2 separate regions of the Homo sapiens genome follow, and region 2 is linked to region 1. Evidence: promoter capture Hi-C in 16 types of primary human blood cells and fetal thymus (Javierre and others, 2016). All regions are on one chromosome and are shown on one strand. Each heading gives the region's core, a stretch centred on a gene start or on the middle of the fragment in contact. The rest is flanking DNA. Distances are from core to core; before and after follow the strand shown. Region 1 holds the start of PCDHB14 (protocadherin beta 14). Region 2 overlaps PCDHA1 (protocadherin alpha 1).

Evidence for each region. The method cuts DNA at HindIII sites, captures the fragments that hold promoters and counts their contacts. A CHiCAGO score of 5 or more calls a contact.
Region 2: a contact is called between a fragment that was not itself captured here and the fragment with the promoter of PCDHB14 in region 1, in 1 of 17 cell types (M2 macrophages). The highest score is 7.4, in M2 macrophages.

Annotation. Positions count from the first base shown.
Region 1 is chr5:141,221,718-141,228,047 of GRCh38, forward strand. PCDHB14 (protocadherin beta 14) reads left to right here and starts at 1,626. Exons shown (of 1, transcript NM_018934.4): 1 at 1,626-6,042. The coding sequence starts at 1,789. The coding sequence ends at 4,185. It also overlaps PCDHB@. The HindIII fragment of the contact is 16,360 bases long and covers 816-6,330 here.
Region 2 is chr5:140,955,996-140,962,185 of GRCh38, forward strand. All of the region lies in intron 1 of PCDHA1 (protocadherin alpha 1), which reads left to right. All of the region lies in intron 1 of PCDHA2 (protocadherin alpha 2), which reads left to right. The region is part of intron 1 of PCDHA3 (protocadherin alpha 3); the gene reads left to right. The region is part of intron 1 of PCDHA4 (protocadherin alpha 4); the gene reads left to right. It also overlaps PCDHA5, PCDHA6, PCDHA7, PCDHA8, PCDHA9 and PCDHA10, and 5 more genes. Among named protein-coding and RNA genes, the nearest start is that of PCDHAC2, 7.4 kb to the right of the region's middle. The HindIII fragment of the contact is 1,223 bases long and covers 3,024-4,246 here.

The DNA.
Region 1 (6,330 bases), core at 376-2,875:
TTACCTCAATATCAGCATGTTCAAAACTGAACACTTCATCTTTTTCCACCCCAATCATGTTTTTTTTTAGCATTCCCTGTCCTAGTGAATGACACCACTAGTCATCCAGATGCCCAGTCCAGAGGTGTGATATCATCTCTGAGTCTTTCCCATTTTTCTCCCCATGCAACCTATCAACCAACAGTTGAAAACATTTCATCTCCTCATACCTTTCTATTCATCCCTCTTCTCTCCATCCACACTGGCATTATCCTCATCCAGATCATCATCTCTTATCTGATCTCCTTGATTCTCCAGTCACTCCCCCTGAAATTAATTCTCCATACTGCAGCCAAACTGATTTTTTAAAATGCAGATGTAATCATGTTAATCAGATATTTAAAACCCATCTTTGTACTTGAATTACCTTTAGGATAAATTCAAGAATGCATGATATGACCTGTATAATGATTCATGTTCTCACCATGCTTTTAACCCTAATTTCATTGTTAGACCCTCCCCTTCCATAGTTTTTAAAGTCCAAGGCATACTTCATTTCTCTGTGTTCCTCAAAATGCCCATCTGAAATATTCCTCCTTCTCCTGGCTAGTTCCTTCAGATCACAATGTATTTTTCATTACCTCAGGAAAGCTTTCACTGATGTCCCAAGTCCGACTTTGATCTTAATTATTTTATTTTTGACAGACACTTAACCAGCACTTACAAACCACTTTGTAAATATTAATTCATTAGATGCCTACGATAATAATCATAGGAGACAAATATTATTACCCCATTTTACAGGTGAGGAAACAAAGGTATCTATAACTTGCCCAAGCTTATAGATAGTAAGTCACATAACCAGGATTCTAATATTGATAATTTGGTTCCAGATCCCATATTCCCAAGCACTAAGGTATGCAGCCTCCTAGGTACAAGAAGTCTTTTCTAGGTATTTCTATATTACTTTTTATAAATGCATACATTATGACATACTTCGTTTACTTGTCTGCCAATTTTTCTAGCTTGTGAGCTCTGTAAGAGCAAGAATTATCTCTAACTTATTTGTGCCATGTCCTTCTTTATATTTTTAAAATATAAAAGTGAAAAAAGTAATGATATTACCAACTATAGCTGACAACAAGTATTTACAAGAGTGAAGGAGATAATATATTTGTAATTACTCGAGAAATGACTTAAATAAAAAATTATTTCTTCAGTTCAGAATATTTTAACAGATCCTTTAGTGCCGAGCATTCAAAACAGTGATAATGCAGTGTATGGACTTTTCTGGATTCAAATTCAAACAAACCAACAGCAAAGGACATTTTGGAGAGAACTGGGGAAAACCAAATGCAGTATAAATTACACCAAGGAATTATTGCTCAAGTTGTTGATTGTGAACGTTTTATTACAATTATCTTTTAGAAGGCCTTACCTATTAAAAATACTTAGTGAAGTATTTAAAGGAAAAAAAATGATGTCTGGGATTTGTTTCGAATGTTCCGGATGTATTTATGAATTACTTTTTCAAAGAGGAAAACTTTTTTAATGAAAAAAAAAACATGGAGACACATGGTGGCGCTACAGGATAAGACGAAAACAGTACATAGGCTGGCACGGTGAGCTTCGCTATTCAGGAGAACAGAAAGCATCCAACCCACTGAAAAGACAGGCATTAAAGGAGCTTCGCCTACAGAGCTGCTGGAGGATACACTCTCCAGGGGGTTCCTGTTAAAAACCAGAGCTTCAGCTTCCAAAATTACGGCTGAGCTTCAGTTTTTCCACAAGAGATTGCCTAAAGGAACCATGGAGATCAGAGGGGCACTCGATCTGCGAAAAAGGCAAGTTCTAATATTCCTTGTTTTGCTGGGATTGTCTCGGGCAGGTACTGAATCTGCACACTATTCTGTGGCAGAGGAAACAGAAATTGGCTCTTTTGTGGCTAATCTAGCGAGGGACCTAGGGCTGGGGGTGGAGGAGCTGTCTTCACGTGAAGCCCGGGTAGTGTCTGATGATAATAAAAAGTATTTGCACCTTGATTTGCTGACTGGGAATTTGCTCCTAAATGAGAAACTAGACCGAGACGAGCTGTGTGGCTCCACCGAGCCCTGTGTGCTGCATTTTCAGGTGGTTTTGGAAAACCCTTTACAGTTTTTTCGGTTTGAGCTGTGTGTCAAAGACATAAATGATCACTCCCCTACATTTCTAGACAAGGAAATACTTATTAAAATATCAGAAGGTACCACTGTTGGAGCTACCTTTCTAATGGAGAGTGCTCAAGATTTGGATGTCGGAAGCAACAGTCTCCAAAACTACACAATTAGCCCCAATTCTCACTTCTACATTAAAATTCCCGACAGTAGTGACAGAAAGATATACCCAGAGCTGGTCCTAGATAGAGCTTTAGATTATGAACAGGAAGCTGAACTCAGATTAACACTCACAGCAGTGGATGGTGGATCCCCGCCCAAGTCTGGGACAACTTTGGTTCTCATCAAGGTGTTGGACATCAATGATAATGCCCCTGAGTTTCCTCAGAGTCTCTATGAGGTGCAAGTCCCCGAGGACAGACCCCTTGGCTCCTGGATTGCCACCATCTCAGCTAAGGATCTGGATGCAGGAAACTATGGAAAAATATCTTACACATTTTTCCATGCATCAGAAGATATTCGTAAAACATTTGAAATTAATCCAATATCTGGGGAAGTTAATTTGAGATCACCCCTGGATTTTGAAGTAATACAGTCCTACACTATAAATATTCAGGCAACAGATGGTGGGGGTCTTTCAGGAAAATGCACCCTTCTAGTTAAAGTTATGGATATAAACGACAACCCACCAGAAGTGACCATATCGTCGATTACAAAGAGAATTCCAGAGAATGCCTCAGAGACCCTAGTAGCTCTTTTTAGTATCCTAGACCAAGACTCTGGAGACAATGGGAGGATGATTTGCTCTATTCAAGATAACCTCCCTTTTTTCCTGAAACCGACCTTCAAGAACTTTTTCACTCTAGTTTCTGAAAAAGCACTGGACAGAGAGAGCCAAGCCGAGTACAACATCACGATCACCGTCACAGACTTGGGGACACCCAGGCTGAAAACCGAGTACAACATAACCGTGCTGCTCTCTGACGTCAATGACAACGCCCCCACCTTCACCCAAACCTCCTACACCCTGTTCGTCCGCGAGAACAACAGCCCCGCCCTGCACATCGGCAGCGTCAGCGCCACAGACAGAGACTCAGGCACCAACGCCCAGGTCAACTACTCGCTGCTGCCGCCCCAGGACCGGCACCTGCCCCTCGCCTCCTTGGTCTCCATCAACGCGGACAATGGCCACCTGTTTGCCCTCAGGTCGCTGGACTACGAGGCCCTACAGGAGTTCGAGTTTCGCGTGGGCGCCACAGACCGCGGGTCCCCGGCGTTGAGCAGCGAGGCGCTGGTGCGCGTGCTGGTGCTGGACGCCAACGACAACTCGCCCTTCGTGCTGTACCCGCTGCAGAACGGCTCCGCGCCCTGCACCGAGCTGGTGCCCCGGGCGGCCGAGCCGGGCTACCTGGTGACCAAGGTGGTGGCGGTGGACGGCGACTCGGGCCAGAACGCCTGGCTGTCGTACCAGCTGCTCAAGGCCACGGAGCCCGGGCTGTTCGGCGTGTGGGCGCACAATGGCGAGGTGCGCACCGCCAGGCTGCTGAGCGAGCGCGACGCGGCCAAGCACAGGCTGGTGGTGCTGGTCAAGGACAATGGCGAGCCTCCTCGCTCGGCCACCGCCACGCTGCACGTGCTCCTGGTGGACGGCTTCTCCCAGCCCTACCTGCCGCTCCCTGAGGCGGCCCCGGCCCAGGCCCAGGCCGACTCCCTCACCGTCTACCTGGTGGTGGCATTGGCCTCGGTGTCGTCGCTCTTCCTCTTCTCGGTGCTCCTGTTCGTGGCGGTGCGGCTGTGCAGGAGGAGCAGGGCGGCCTCGGTGGGTCGCTGCTCGGTGCCCGAGGGTCCCTTTCCAGGGCATCTGGTGGACGTGAGCGGCACCGGGACCCTGTCCCAGAGCTACCAATACGAGGTGTGTCTGACAGGAGGTTCCGGGACAAATGAGTTCAAATTTCTGAAGCCGATTATCCCCAATTTTCAAGTTCATGACACTGGTAGGAATATGGGGGAAATCGAGAACTTTCGAAATAGCTTTGGACTTAACATTCAATAAAACAATTTATTTTAAATGTCTAATTTTTGGTTATTCTTGGCAAGCTGATGGTACTTTTTGCATAATCTTTTGTGGATTCTTGGTTGTACTGTAGTTGCATGCATGATTATAGCTCTTGTTTTTCTCACAGTTTCTTTAAAAATCTTTATTAGTGGCTATAATGACGTGGAAATGTAATCTGTGTTTTCTGGTTTTTCATTTATTTGGCCAAAATGTTATATTAATGGAGTTATTGCTATTTTTGCTGTGATAATGGTATTATGCAAGACCATATTCTCAATTATTTGGATATGCAAACTAAAGTATTAAGAGCTAATGTCATTATATATGTAACTTAAATCTAGACACCATCAAAGCATAAAATAAAAATAAAAAGCGTTGCTGAATCTGGGTCGAAAATGTAGTGCGTTTATCCCACTATTCTCTCTGAAAATGTTCTTTAGAAAGGGTAACAAAGATGCTATCCCTCCATTTTCAGTTCTGGAGAACCTTATTAGTTTTTCAAATATTTACTTTATGATGAAACTTAAGTGGTCACATTGGAAATTATTAATTTCTTAAGTAATTTTTTCTGTAACTGCTTTTGTTGATAATCCTGTTGTGGAGGAAGAGTCTTATAATGCTCTGGGCTTTGCTGTCACTCTTTGGTTTTCTTAATTTAATTCTATTTATTTATGTTTTTTGAGACAGGGTCTCATTCCATTGACCTGGCTGGAATGCAGTGGCACCATCATGGCTCACTGCCGCCTTGACTTCCTGGGTTCAGGTGATTCTCCTGCCTCAGCCTCCTGAGTAGCTGGATCACCAGCACAGGCCACTACGGCCTGGCTAATTCTTTTGTATTTTTTTTGTACAGATGGAATCTTGCCATGTTTCCCAGTCTGGTCTGGAACTCCTTGGCTCAAGCGATCTGCCCGCCTTAGCTAGTTTTTTGTTTTTGTTTTTTGAGACAAAGTCTCACTTTGTTGTCCAGGCTAGAGAGTAGTGGCAGGATCTTGGCTCACTGCAGCCTCGACATCCTGGGCTCAGGCAATCCTCCTGCTTCGGCCTATTAAATAGCTCAAACTACAGGCACCCGCCACGATGCCTAGCTAAATTTTTGTATATGTGGTAGAGATGGAGTTTTGCCATGTGGCCCAGGCTAGTCTCGAACTCCTGAACTCAAGTGATCCACCTGCTTTGGCCTCCCAACGTGCTAGGATTACAGGCATGAGCCATTACGTCTGGCCTAGTTTTCTTTAAATACACCGTGTTTACTAGCTTAAATTTTGTGTTGTTTATTACTAAAGCAGAAAATAATTTAGGGTCTTATCCTGGGTAAAATAGCCTTCCATCAGATGAGTACAAAGCAAGAACTTCATAAGAAATTGAAATGAAGATTCAAACTGTTAAAGAAATGATTTAGTTTCACTTTCCTATTAATTATTGAGTAAATATAAAACATCATTAACACTTTGTGGCCTCTCTCAGATGCCTACAAAGAAGGAATGGGTAGGCATTTATGGTTTATAGTTGCCTCATCATGTAACATATTATATCTCAGCTCTAAAAGAAAGTTCTATAGAAGATTATAGATAGAGATTTTGATAACTGGAATGTAGTATGGATATAGGGCTGGTGTACATATACATTTTGAAATTGCTCTTACAAGATTAAATACTATTATAGACCAGATGATGTAGTAAAATGGAATTTCACTTGCCATTGTGAAATAGGTGAAACAAATTCCAGTTTCCTTAGATTTCTTCCCTCTACTTTATGCAATTATCACTGATTTTATTTTTCGTTGTAACAAGTAGTTATTTGTTGTGTGGATTTCTTAAAATTGACATTTAAACAATAAAATCCTGAAAAGAATATTTGGGTCCCCTTTTTCCCTCAGAGTCATAAGAGGCAAAACTGTGCTCTTAAGTCACTGCTAATGTAAAAACTGAAGTAACTAAAAACTAAAGAAAGAGAGAAGAAAGACTAGAATAAGGTAGAAAAAAGTGAAATGGAAAGAGAAATAAAAGTGTATTTTTAACCTCAGTATTATCAATTATAAATGAAAATTTAAAATAGTATTGAAACTATAATGTTTCTAGAAATTAGGCTAACAAGTCAGAAAACCTTTGTGGAAAAGTGAATGATGTCAATAAAACATTA
Region 2 (6,190 bases), core at 2,385-4,884, 260 kb before region 1:
TTGTATCCTGAGACTTTGCTGAAGTTGCTTATCAGCTTAAGAAGCTTTTGGGCTGAGACAATGGGGTTTTCCAGATATAGGATCATGTCATCTGCAAACAAAGATAATTTGATTTCCTCTCTTCCTATTTGAATACCCTTTATTTCTTTCTCTTTCCTAATTGCCATAGCCAGAACTTCCAATACTATGCTGAATAGGAGTGGTGAAAGAGGGCATCCTTGTCTTGTGCTGGTTTTCAAGGGGAATGCTTCCAGGTTTTGCCCATTCAGTGTGGTATTGGCTGTGGGTTTATCATATATATGGCTCTTATTATTTTGAGATATGTTCCTTCAATACCTAGTTTATTGAGCATTTTTAACATGAAGGGATGTTGAATTTTATCGAAGGCCTTTTCTGAATCCATTGAGATAATCATGTGGGTTTTGTCTTTAGTTCTGCTTATGTGATGAATTACATTTATTGATTTGCATATGTTGAACCAGTCTTGCATCCCAGGGATGAAGCCTACTTGATCATGGTGAATAAGCTTTTTGATGTGCTGCTGGATTTGGTTTGCCAGTATCTTATTGAGGATTTTTGCATTGATGCTTATCAGGGATATCAGCTGGAAGTTTTCCTTTTTGTTGCATCTCTGCCAGGTTTTGGTATCAGGATGATGCTGGCCTTAAAGGAGTTAGGGAGGAGTACCTCCTTTTCCATTGTTTGGAATAGCTTCAGAAGAATTGGTACCAGCTCCTCTTTGTACCTCTGATAGAATTCAGCTGTAAATCTGTCTGGTCCTGGGCTTTGTTTGCTTGGTGGGCTATTTATTATTGCTTCAATTTGTAATTTAATATTTTTAAATCTTGGGTTAAATGGTTGAATGAATGTGTGAAAAGTTAGATATCAATGAATGAATATTCTTAAATGTATAAACTTTAATCTTGCTGGATATAGGATAAAATTTACATTAAAACACTGTAATTAATCAGTCAATTTAAGTAAAATAAATTCAAGGAAGTGGTCTGAATTTCTCAGTGAGCATTTAGATATTTATGGGAGTCATATAAAATAAATTATAAATGTGACTGAGGGCTTTTTATTAAGGAAAATGAAATATTGCTATGGACATGATTCTGTGTGTTTCTTTACTACACTATGAACTAAAAATTTTGGAGACAAATCTAAGTATATAAATTGGTTTATTGATGACCGATTGGGAATATAAATAGGCACAAAAATTTGGCGAAGCATTTTGGCATGTCTACCTAAAATTTAAATATGTAAGCACTAGTCCCCCCTTACCTGCAGTTTCACTCTGAGCAGTTTCAGAAAATAGGTGAGCACAGTACAGTAAGATATTTTGAGAGAGAGACCACATTCATAAAACTTTTATTATAGTGTATTGTTATAATTGTCCTAATTTATTATTATTGTTGTTAATCTTTTACTGTGCCTAATTTATAAATCACACTTTATCATAGGTATGTATGTATAGGAAAAAACATAGTATATGTAGAATTCAGTATTATCCTTGGTTTCAGACATTCAGTGGGGATCTTAGAAAGTATTCTCTGTGGAAAAGGAGGGACTACTGTACTTTTAACAAAGCACTTCCCAGAATAAACACACAGACATATACATGCACACACTTTCAGAAATGCACTTAAATATTCAATCATGGAGTAAAAATTAATTATGAAATATCTAGACAATGAACATTATGTAGTTTTTATTAAGAAAGAAGCAGAATTATATATACTGACATGAAAGGATGTTCATTATATATGTTAAGTAAAAACTAAGTTCATCATATATGTTAAGTAAAAAAAAGTCACAAATTAAGAGAAAGTGTTAATTGATTTGAGAGTTTGTGTATTTTTTTTCCTATTTTGTGCTGAAAAGCTGAAGTTGGCATCAACCAAGGCATATTGTTATCTATGTATCAAGCTAAATAATTTAAAGATCTTTAAGACTATTAATTCAGAGATGCTGTATAAATAGAATCAGTGCCAGATTTTTTGTTTCAATTCTATCAGCCAAGTATACTATGCTTTCTTTGCTTGTGATAGAAAAAAGAGAGAAAAAACACAGAAGCAAAAAGTAAAGTTGTACAATAGTGTGTAGAGTGTGGTTCCATTTTGTAAAATGTATCAGTGTGTATATTTATATAGCATAGTCAAAAGCCTGGAGTGATATAAATTTTCTGTTACTGGTCTAGTATACAAGGGAATTAGATTTTAAAGGACTTTCATTGTTTTTAACAATTCTGAACAAATTTAATTTGGTACAAGAAGTATATATTTTAAATATTATTGAACTTAATTAAAATAAATTAGAGCTCAAAAAATAAATAAATCACAGGAAGTTCACAGTCTGACTTTATCAGGAATGTTGCTATTTTCTTAACAGGTCATCAAACATTATCACTGATGCTTGGAAAGAAGCACTTTTTATAATTTAAAAATACCTTTTATTCTTCAACTTCTGCTGGCTTAAAGAGCACTAAGTCCACATATCCTAGGAGGCATGGCTGTCCAATATATACTATGTGTACATTGATTTATGAACCAATAAATGTTTCATACACAGTTGAGATTTTAAATGAGCTTATGATAATTGGATCAAAGGAATACTAGTCCAGCTTGAGAGTACTGCAGAAAACCAATCACAGAAAGCTATGATGAAATTTTAATTATAAAGGATATTGAATATCCTAGAGTGACAACTCTGTTATAATAAATGTAACACTGAATGGGAAAGAGAGAAAGGAGATTTTTACCCATTTCTGTTTGAAATCAACTTTCTATTTCTAGTAAATTATCACACCATTCTGTTTTAATTTTTATATCTTAAAGTTATCATTCCAGTGTCTTTGGTTTACTGGGTTTATAAAAGAATTGACCAGTAGCTATATAATAGATACAGAAAAGTCTGCCTGGGTGTGGTGGCTCATACTTGTAATAATATTATATTATTATAATTGTTCTATTTTATTATTAGTTATTGTTGCTAATCTTTTACTGTACCTAATTTATACATTAAGCTTTATCATGGGTATGTATGTATAGGAAAAAATGCAGTATATATAGAATTCAGTATTATCCTTGGTTTCGGACATTCAGCAGGGGTCCGAAGGTGGGCGAGGTGAGCCCACTTTGGGAGGCCAAAGTGGGCAGATTGCTTGACCCCAGGAGTTCAGGACCAGTCTGGGCAACATGGTGAAATGCTGTCCTTACAAAAAATACAAAAATTATCTGGGCATGATAGTGCATGACTGTAGTCCCAGCTACCCAGGAGCCTGAGGTGGGAGCATCACTGAGCCCGGTGGTTGAAGCTGCAATAAGTTTTGATTATGCTACTGCACTCCAGCGGGACAACTGAGTGAGACCCTGTCTCAAAAAAAAAAGTCACAAATTAAGATAAAGTGTTGATTGATCTGAGAATTTGTGTATTTTTTTCTATTTTGTGCTGAAAAGCTGAAGTTGGCATCAATCAAGGCATATTGTTATATATGGATCAAACTAAAAAATTTTAAGATCTTTAAGACCATTAATTCAGAGATGCTGTATAAATAGAATCAGTACTAGATTTTTTGTTTCAATTCTATCAGCCAAGTATAACATGCTTTTCTTGCTTGTGATAGAAAAAAAGAGAGAAAAAACACAGAAGCAAAATTGAAGAATTTGTAAATCATTTCTAAATAATTTCAATAAAATGAGCTTTGAAAGGGAAAATTTTTAGATAACATTATCTCATCAAAATGCCTTAAAGTATATTTTAATATTCAGTAAGAACAGTGTATATTAACATGGCTAATTTAGAGGATTTATATTTTACCCACATGATAATGTATTATGCCTGTAACTGCTAAAGGAATTATGTAGCAAAATCTGTCAAGGAATACACGAGTGGGATTTATATCAGAAAAATCAAAGCCATTTGTAAAGCCCCATTACTTAGGCAGAATATCATAGGTAGGAGGTAGATGTTACTGAAAGAAGAAGTTGGGATATGAAATACAAATCTATTTTGCATCATGATTTTGTTAAGTCCGGCTGTTTATTATTAAAAACATGTACAGAAGATTCAATTGAAGTTTCTAAAAGAGAAAGAAACTTGTAGTTGTGGGAACAATAGTATTCCTTATGAAATACTTAGATATTAATAGCTTGAGACTGATAATACAATTCTTAAGTTAGGGGTTGCATGTGTAGTGGTCAGATGTTATTTCAGGATCTCAAGAAACAGAGCCATGGTAAAAAGAAGCTTCCTGGAGCTTCTGATAAATTCCGTCACCTTTTTGGGACCCAGTTTCTTCATCAATACCAACCTCATTAGGGTCCTGTGAGAAGTACATGAGGTGAGATATGTACTGAAATAATATGCCAACTCTTAAGTGCCAAGACATTAGGATGCAAGGGGGGGTGCCCAAAAAGTCAACAATTACTTGATACTCTAGATATATGTATGGATAATTTTGAGAAGTAATCCTTCTTACACAGAGGTGTAGGTTTGTTTGTTCCAAGCAGCAAACATAATGGGTATAGGAAAGAGAAACTGTGGCCTTCATATAGACTGAGCTTAGGAAAACAGTTGGAAAACAGTTCAAATTCAAGGTACTTCAACAATATCTAGTGTGTTTTTGAAATATATTTTTAAAACCCCTATCCAAATCAATGAATGCTTTGGCTAAAACCTACTTGGGAATGAGGGTGTTCTTTAGTGCCAAATACTCATCTTATTTTAGTCCATGATTTTAGTCCATGGCTAAAATCCCAAGAGTTACAGAGGAGAAATAGGGCCAAACAAGGTTTCTATTAAAATAAGAGGTCCCAAGTGATGAATGGAAACTTGGAACAGGTTTAATGGCAACTATAAGCCAGAAATTAGCTGAAATACACACTAATGAATTTGGGGCATATCTTGAGTTTCAGATAGAAAATTGGTACTAAGTTTAGTGAATTAGAAACATAGCTTAACCTAGGCAGTTGCAATTCTTGTTCCAAAAATGCTCAATTTGCTGCTGGACTGCATGGACACTTGCTACCTCCTTGTTTTGAGTCATTAACAAAATGTTGAATGGGATATCTGGAGTATCAAGTAATTGTTGACTTTTTGGTCACCCAACCCCCTTGCATCTTAATGTCTTGGCACTTAAGAGTTGGCATATTATTTCAGTACATATCTAACCTTATGTACTCCTCACAGGACCCTAGTGAGGTTGGTATTGATGAAGAAACTGGGTCCCAAAAAGGTGATGGAATTTATCCGAAGCTCCAGGAAGCTTCTTTTTACCATGGCTCTGTTTCTTGAGGTTAAAGAACATGATTTACCAGGCTCTGTTTCTTGAGAGACCAAGAGTGGATCCCTGTAGTCCCCATTAGAATTCTCCTTCTAGTTTGAACTATTCCATTAGTAAACACTTTTTGGCATGTTATTTAAACAATTACAAAATCACCTAACTACACTGTCTTGCAGCTGCCTTTCTTTTTTTGTCTTGTCCACGTGAGTATATTGGGAGACTTTGTTTAATGTCTCCACAAATTCTAGATAGACTGTTCCTGCAGCATTTCTTTTTTTAAATTTTGTTTTGATAAGCATTTATTTTGGCAATGATTCTAGTAAATGAAACTAAAGTGCCCATATGAAAAACAATCTTAAGTCTATGTGGTTAGTTTGAAGTTACCAGTTTTTAATTAAGCCGGAGTAGTCCTTAGTATGAATGCCTTCATTTCTAAGTGCTCATAAACAATCACTTTAGTAATATTACAGTTTTGAAGGAATTTATATCAAGCTTAATGGCACTTTTTAAAAGATAGGAAATTGGGTTCTCTAGTCACATCTGTAAGTTATTTCAGTGCCTTGGAAGATCATTTATCTGGCCACAGATAATTGACTTACTTACATCAGTTTTTTTTTTTTTTGAGATGGAGTCTCGCTCTGTTGCCCAGGCTGGAGTGCAGTGGCATGATCTCGGCTCACTGCAACCTCCGCCTCCTGGGTTCACGCCATTGTCCTGCCTCAGCTTCCCGAGTAGCTGGGACTACAGGCACCCACCACCATGCCTGGCTAATTTTTTTGTATTTTTTAGTAGAGACGGGGTTTCACCATGTTAGCCAGGATGGTCTCGATCTCCTAACCTTGGCCTCGGCCTCCCAAAGTGCTGGGATTACAGGCGTGAGCCACCACACCCGGCCACTTATATCAC